Linked DNA regions of Homo sapiens: regions 2 and 3 are each linked to region 1. Evidence: promoter capture Hi-C in 16 types of primary human blood cells and fetal thymus (Javierre and others, 2016). All regions are on one chromosome and are shown on one strand. The core of a region is centred on a gene start or on the middle of the fragment in contact, and the rest is flanking DNA. Distances in the headings are between cores, read along the strand shown.

Evidence for each region. Contacts are between HindIII fragments. The CHiCAGO score rates a contact against its expected background, and 5 or more counts as called.
Region 2: a fragment that was not itself captured here is called in contact with the fragment with the promoter of MSH4 in region 1 in 1 of 17 cell types (total CD8 T cells); the score reaches 6.1 in total CD8 T cells.
Region 3: the fragment with the promoter of CTH here is called in contact with the fragment with the promoter of MSH4 in region 1 in 1 of 17 cell types (total CD4 T cells); the score reaches 6.8 in total CD4 T cells.

The regions. Positions count from the first base shown.
Region 1 is chr1:75,795,570-75,798,194 of GRCh38, forward strand. It overlaps MSH4 (mutS homolog 4), which reads left to right and starts at 1,313. Exons shown (of 20, transcript NM_002440.4): 1 at 1,313-1,660. The coding sequence starts at 1,417. The HindIII fragment of the contact is 6,934 bases long and covers 1-2,625 here.
Region 2 is chr1:70,315,010-70,317,634 of GRCh38, forward strand. It overlaps ANKRD13C (ankyrin repeat domain 13C), which reads right to left. Exons shown (of 13, transcript NM_030816.5): 4 at 472-557. Among named protein-coding and RNA genes, the nearest start is that of ANKRD13C, 38 kb to the right of the region's middle. The HindIII fragment of the contact is 1,503 bases long and covers 536-2,038 here.
Region 3 is chr1:70,409,893-70,412,517 of GRCh38, forward strand. CTH (cystathionine gamma-lyase) reads left to right here and starts at 1,376. Exons shown (of 12, transcript NM_001902.6): 1 at 1,376-1,691. The coding sequence starts at 1,524. RefSeq lists an enhancer at 947-1,206 and a silencer at 1,267-1,416. The HindIII fragment of the contact is 3,560 bases long and covers 178-2,625 here.

The DNA.
Region 1 (2,625 bases), core at 63-2,562:
TGTGATCCACCCACCTCGGCCTCCCAAAGTGCTGGGATTACAGGCGTGAGCCACCACGCCTGGCCTAAAATGAGTACAATCACTCTAGGGGTTTACAGTTTTGGTGAAAGTGAGGTATTCTCTATTTTTAAATTTTATTTTTTAGAGACAGGGTCTTCCTTTCTTCCCCAGGCTGGGGCATAGTAGTGCAATCACAGCTCACTGTAACCTTAAACTCCTGGGCTCAAGCAGTCCTTCCACCTCAGCCTCCTGAGTACCAGGGTCTACAGGTACCTGCCACCATGCCCACTATGCCCAGCTGATTTCTTAATTTTGGGGACAGGCACTGTCTTCCCCAGGCTGGTCTCCGGAGGTGAAGTAATCCTCTGGCCTCAGTCTCCCAAAGTACTGGGATTACAGGGAGGAGCCATCGTGCCCGATCTGAAAATAAGGTTTTTTGATGGAAATTGAGATTTTTCTCAAGTATGTTTGGAATGCCCTGTGCAATAATCATTCCAAGAACAGAGATGTTCTTAAGGACTGTTGTCACTGCATGTGGGTAAACCGCTGTGCATAACTGGTTTATTGAGATACTCAACAGTGGCAGGATTTCAGTAGTGGTGTAAATTAATGTCTTCTAATAGCTTCTGTATGGCAGTATCCAGATAATTTCGTCATGTTTAATCCATGGATCTCTGGTAAGTTGGTACTATTGGCCTTATTTAAGGAATTTTCTAAAGGTCACCACTGCAAAGCTGGAGTTTGAACTTCTAGTGTGCCATTAACTGATTTATATGTTAGAAACCACAGTACTAGAAATTGGTAGATGGGGAATTGTTAACTGAGAGATCTTACCCAGTCAGTCTTTCCCTGTTTCCTACTCTACTATGCACACAGCCATGTGCATACTATCTTTTGATAATATAACTATCTTTCCTATATTTGGTCACAAGATCAACCTTAGGTGGGTTATGCTGTGTGAGCATTACACGTTCTCATTGTGTCAAAGGCACTGGGTGTACTGTGTTGGGTGGTTTCTACATTTAAAGATAAGCTAGTGTGCTTGGACGTGTGGGAAATGCATGTAACATTTGCAATAAGGGAGATTGGGTGCTGTGAGAATAATGGGGCTAACAAATCGGGTGGTCATTGATGGGCCTTGCAGAGTTCTGGTCAGTCTGATACCTGCAGGCTGAGGATGTTCCAGTGAGGTTCATGTGGAAAGTGATGGGTTTGGGAATGGCTGGAAGCAGGGTCATAGACCTGAAGTACGTGAATCCATGTGGAAAGCTGAGCCTGCCTGCGCCTGCGCAGTGCAGCTTAGTGCGTCGGCGCGCAGTTCTCCCGCCCGTTTCAGCGGCGCAGCTTCTGTAGTTGGGCTACTGGAGGGGTCGCTCAGAAACCTCATACTTCTCGGGTCAGGGAAGGTTTGGGAGGATGCTGAGGCCTGAGATCTCATCAACCTCGCCTTCTGCCCCGGCGGTTTCCCCGTCGTCGGGAGAAACCCGCTCACCTCAGGGTCCCCGCTACAATTTCGGACTCCAGGAGACTCCACAGAGCCGCCCTTCGGTCCAGGTGGTCTCTGCATCCACCTGTCCTGGCACGTCAGGAGCTGCGGGCGACCGGAGCAGCAGCAGCAGCAGCCTTCCCTGCCCCGCGCCAAACTCCCGGCCAGCTCAAGGCAAGGAGTGATTGGGTGGAGGAGTCTCCTTGAGGCTAGAGGCCGGCAGTTCATGGAGGCTCGGGGGCACGTGGGTGGTGGTTACCACAGTGAAGTTGTGATTTGGTTGGGGCGTGAGATCTGAGTGCCCTGGGAATTTGGTGAGTCTGGGTGATTAGAAGCCTTGACTTTTCAAATTGGTTCTATTGCAAGACCTTGACTGTGGATGGCTCAGTTCTGAGAAAGGCTGAAGTATCCCATATAACGTCCCTCACAGTGTCTGACAAATGACAGTTTGTGCGTGAGTTTGCTGATAGAAGTTGTGAGCTGATCTTTGGCTGCTGAATTTAATTCTCCAAATCCTGCTAAGGTGGGATAAAATAGATTAAATTGAACATTTCATCTAATTCAGGGAAAATAATATGTTTAGTATTAAAAGAGTGGGCTGGGCGGTGGCTGACGCCTGTAATCCCAGCACTTTGGGAAACCAGGGTGGGCGGATCACTTGAGGCCGGGAGTTCCACACCAGCCTGGCCAACATGGTGAACCTCCCACCCCCATCCCCTATCTCTACTAAAAGTACAAAAATTATCTGGGTGTGGTGGCACGTGACTGTGGTCCCAGCTACTCAGGAGGTTGAGGTGGGAGGATGGCGAGTCCGGGAGGTCGAGGCTGCCGTGAGCTGAGATTGCGCCACTGCATTTCAGCCTGGGTGACACAGTGAGACCCTGACTCAAAACAAACAAACAAAAAAGATGCATGTCCTTCAAATCATTTATTATTTTGTTAGTCTCTATTCATGACAAAGCATCACCATTTTTCACACACGATTGCAACACAATGGTAAAGTAACAAATACCAAATCCAATGGTCATTTTTCAGTTCATCTCATGTGACCTTTCTGCTGTATTTAATGTTCTTAATTTCTTTATTTTTAGAAACAGAGTCTCGCTATGCTGCCCATGCTGGTCTCAAACTCCTGGTCT
Region 2 (2,625 bases), core at 37-2,536, 5.5 Mb before region 1:
AGGCGGATTGCTTGAGCTCAGGAGTTTGATACCAGCCTGGGTAATATGGTGAAACCCCATCTCTACTAAAAATACAAAAAATTAGCTGGGCGACAGAGTGAGGCGCTGTCTCCAAAACAAACAAACAAAAAAAACTGCCACTTCTAGTAGCAATGGCTTTAGCTATAGAGAATCTTCTAATTCAAAGGCAAAGGAAAATTATTGCCATTAACTGTGACTTACCTCCTTTTTTTTTCTTTAGAGCTCTTATCTAATTTATTGAAAGTAATAAATCTTTATCTTCCTAGTTCAAACTGAGGTGCTTCTACTAAGATCACATTCATACACTAATTATTGCTTAATTTAAGCATGATTTTTACCATTTTTTGGCCCCTAATAAGTGAGAATTTAAGTTGTATTAAGAAAAAAATGCTTAAAACTACACTTATAATTACTTCCAAGGTGCAAAATTAACAAAGAAATATAGCTTACCTCTTTCAGGGCTTTTAATAATCGAGGTCGTTTTTCTTCAACACTTTCCCTGGATTGCTGCTTAAGCTTCCTCAAAAGAGCTGTAACTAAAGTTTAAATTTTAAAAATAACTAATTTAAATTTTCATCATGCAGTAAAAACACCACTGGCTTATTATACATATAGATAGATAATACATGTACACATATATGCACGTGCATGTATGTGTGTATGTGTATGTGTGTATCTACATCTACAATATATTTTGAAAGGCCAAAAATCAAAGAGCAATGTTTAAATTACTGAAGGCCTCTTGGAACAGTAAAAGAAGCTGAGACATAGAAGTCAGAGAACATGGGACCTATATAGATAGAATAAGTTAGTAAGTAAGTTTAATAAAACTGGTATGATCCCCAAAGAATAATGAGAAGAGATATTTCAACATCAACCTATACCATATTCACACTAGCTTTTACTAGTTTTTTAATTATCAGTAACGATTTACCTAACTGTGCCAAGATAACCAAACTCATTCAAATGATGCAATGTCCTAATAGAACACTGACCTCAAGGAAGATCTCAAAAACAACAGATCTCAAAAATCCCACTGGAAGCCACTTTTCTAAAAACATATAATTACCTGCAATTGTTACCAGGTGTTATCTGTTCTTTTACCACTGGAGGATATACCTTCACATACTACCAGCACAGTATAAAAAATACAAAAATGAATCTTATTGTACATGGAAAAAGAACTTCTGAATCTAAGAAAACCTAAAGGTCCTCCATAGTGTATTTTCAGTTACTGAGATTTAAGCACATTGCTGAAGTTCAAACCCCAGCTTTACCACTTAGTGGTTGTGGGTAAACTTGGACAAGTTACTACTTAATTTCTCTAAACTTCCTTTTTTTTTCCTCTCCTTTGTCAAGTAAGAATAGAAGTAAGGGCACAGTGGTCTGCACCTGTAGTCCCAGCTACTCAGGAGGTTAAGGTGAGAGGATCACTTGAGCTCAGGAGTTCGAGACCAGCCTGGGAAACATAGTAAGACCCCATCTCTATTAAAAAAAAAAAAAAAAATTAGCCAGGGCTTGATGGTGTGTACCTGTGGTCCTAGCTACTTGGGAGGCTGAGACAGGAGGACTGGTTGTGCCCAAGAGTTTGAGGCTGCAGTGAGCTATGACCACTGCACTCCAGCCTGGGTGACAGAGCAAGACACTGTGCCTGTAATTAACTAAATACAATTTTTATCTATTAGAATGAAGGTCTAAAATTCACTGGCAAAATCAATCAATTAATCCTTAATATTTACCAAAATAAGAAAAAATATTAGACTTGAATGAAATAAGCATAGGAAAAAATAAGAACATGGAAAAATGTGCATCGGGGAAAATATATACATATATACACGCTAGTTTCCTCCTGATTCTAACACATTTTTCATATACATACATATACATATGCGTTCTGAGGGCTTTTTAAAAATCAGTAAATTATTTTTACTATTTCACAGCATGCATTCTTATAAACCACTTCAAGTCCCATGTGGAACGCAGAAGCAGAAGGCGAATAAAAAAAGAAGGTAGTGAAAGCTTGGACTAGATTTTTTTTTTTTGTCCACATAGGTCCAAAATTAGGAAAAATCTAGGGAAGCATGTAAAAATAGTAGGAGCTATTCTTATTTTTAACCACAGGTCTAACTAAATTCCAATATATTTTAAAAAGCCAAAAATCAAAGAACAATGCTTAAATTACTGAAGGTGTCTCAAAATAATCAAAACTGAGACACAGAAATCGGAATGCAGGACCTAGTTTCAGTTCTACCATTTACTAGCTCGGTGACCTAAATCAATAATTCCCAAATACGAACCTACATTTCTGTGCCCAATTGTTTGAGTTTCCAATGATATACAGAAAATGAGAAAAAATGTGTACTAGAATGAGTTTTTTCTTAATAAATTTTTTTAAAGACTATTCTTCCTACTTTTGGTTTCAAATATCTTTTTTTTAAAAATAAAATGTGGATCACAAAAGACAGTAGTTATCGTTTTTATAAAGTTCTGATAGTCTAAGATGAAAAAGTTAGATTCCCTATATCAATCACCAGTAAAAAAAATTTTTCTGGTCTGTGAAATCCAAAAAGTCTGAGAATCAATGACTTAGATAATCATTTAAAG
Region 3 (2,625 bases), core at 126-2,625, 5.4 Mb before region 1:
CATATCATATTACACAAAAATACCCACCTATAGTTATACATAAATATTGAGGTGAGTTGCAGTTGATGTTATATTTTTAAAAGAAAAATATTAATTAAATATGTATTAATATACATTAGTGTTTTGAAGTCTATCCATTTTTTCCCCCAGCCATACAAAGTTTGGTAGGATTCTAAAAGCTTGTAGGCCCTCAAGCACCACTCCTCTAGTGCTTAATGGGTTAAATGTCCCTAAAGCTAATTTGAAAAGCAAATTGCCTCATTCTTTCTCTTCATATCTTTCTTTCAAACTGTAAATTTTAAGAGCTGTTTATTCCTTATTCTCCTTGTTCTTAATTTGTTTAATAAAGTTTTAGATCTTTAGCGAATATTTTGCAACAACAGAAATATCCCCAAATTTCCTGGTGCTAGAAAACAGCCACAATAGTAAGTAGGTCAAGTCTGTATTGCTTAGGGAACAGGGAGATTTTTGTTTTAAAGCAGTGATTCTTCTGAGAGTAGGGCTCTGGGCGCAGGTGAGTGGTAAACAATCCTTTTTCCTGCAGGGATGTTGCTGTTGTGTAAAAGCAAAAGCATTTTGTGTAAGGATGTTAGGCTCCAGTAAGTATTTCAAAGCCACATTATCTTTCTCATTAGGGGGAGTTTCTCTCTGTACTTTAAAAGAAGATAATGATGCTTGAAAAAGCTCAAGATTGACTAACTTTTAGGAAGCTGCCAGAGTTGTGCATAGACGTCCTCACTACAGTAGCTTCGTTATGTCTTACGAACAATTTAACCTTCACTTCTAGTCATCGTTTCGTCATCGTAAGCACTGGGTCATTACAGAGTTCAGTGTACCTAAAACGCAAGCTGTGACTGATGAGAATCCAAGCTGCAAACTGGGCGGCTTGGGCAACTGTTTTCTTAACCACCCTCCACGTTGTGGCTTACGTCTTTTAGCACCGCCCTCAGGGCAAAGGATGGTGGTCAGAGGTAACTACCACAGTAAAAGAAGGCTATTTATGTGGTCTGTTTACAGTTACCCGGTTTCAACACTAAGCCAGCTTTCCGCCACGTCTCGGGCGAACCTCCGGCCTGAGGTCACAGAGACGCCCGGGTGGCTCTCAGGAGCCAGCATGGCAGCCTCCTCAGGACGGGTACTCAGGAATTTCGCCCGCAGGGACTAACACCACTTGGACCCAGGGACTCCAGCTTCACTCCGCTTTGTGCACTGGGTGGGGCGGTCGCGGTGACGTTTCAGGCAACGCCTCTGCTGTCAGCCAATAAGGAGCGGGAGACGCGTCGGGCCTGCGCTCAATGGGCCGCGCTGGTCCCGCCCCACTGTGATCGTGAGACTGCAGACCCGCTAATAAAATCCACCCCAACAATCGCTGTGTGCCGCTTTAGTGCGCTCGCCGTCGGCTCTACCTGCGTGCTTTAGCTCCTTCTCGCCTGATCCTTCTGTCTCTCCCAACCCCGGACACCCGGCTTCGACTGGTTATATCTTCGGTGTTCTTTTCCTCTCTTCTTCTTTCGCGGTTCAGCATGCAGGAAAAAGACGCCTCCTCACAAGGTTTCCTGCCACACTTCCAACATTTCGCCACGCAGGCGATCCATGTGGGCCAGGATCCAGAGCAATGGACCTCCAGGGCTGTAGTGCCCCCCATCTCACTGTCCACCACGTTCAAGCAAGGGGCGCCTGGCCAGCACTCGGTGAGCTGGGTCTGTCTGGGGCTGTCCACAGTTGGGCGGTAAAAGAGATACGGCTTATGAATTTGAAAGGCATGTAAGTAATTTATAATATGACTTATAAATTAGGAAGGCAACCGAAAGATGTTTCTACACTGTAATTCTTGCAGCACAGCTTTGTATCGGATGGTCCAGTGATCGTATTTCTTTTGATAAGCAGGACTGGAAGGAGCCGTTTGTCCAGCTTGCCATTTAGATTTGGCCTGAAATTCAGGTGATTTTGACAAATTTGCAATTAAAAATCGAAGGTCATAACTTTTTTGAGTTACCTTTAGCAGCATAAATTTTAAAGATGTAGTACGGAGTCAGCTTAAAAAATATTAAGGGTCTGATAACTTGACTAGAATTAAGATTGTTTCCAGTAGCTGTATGAATAGTTATTGAGTACCTACTATATGCCAAATACGTGCTCGTATATATCATGTGTATTACATGTATTGTCTCATCTAATCCTAACAACAACCCTAGTCTGAACCGAATTCTCATTTTTTCCCAATAAAGAAGCTGAGATTTAGGGAGTTAAGTAACTAGCCTTAGACTAGTAAGTATTGGAGATGGAATTCAAACTTTAGAAACTTGAGGTTGCTTTAGGAACCAACTCCTAGGCACTCAGCTACACTATGCTATCTCTAATAATGCTAGTAACAATTTAGCCTATTGCGTCATTTAAGCACTGTGGCTTAGTGATTAAGAACACAACTCATGACCGGGTGCAGTGGCTTACGCCTGTAATCCCAGCACTTTGGGAGGCTGAGGCGGGTGGATCACCTGAGGACAGGAGTTCGAGCCCAGCCTGGCCAACATGGTGAAACCCCATCTCTACTAAAAATAAATAAATTAGCTGGGCATGGTGGCGGGTAATCTCAGCTACTCGGGAAGCTGAGGCAGGAGAATCGCT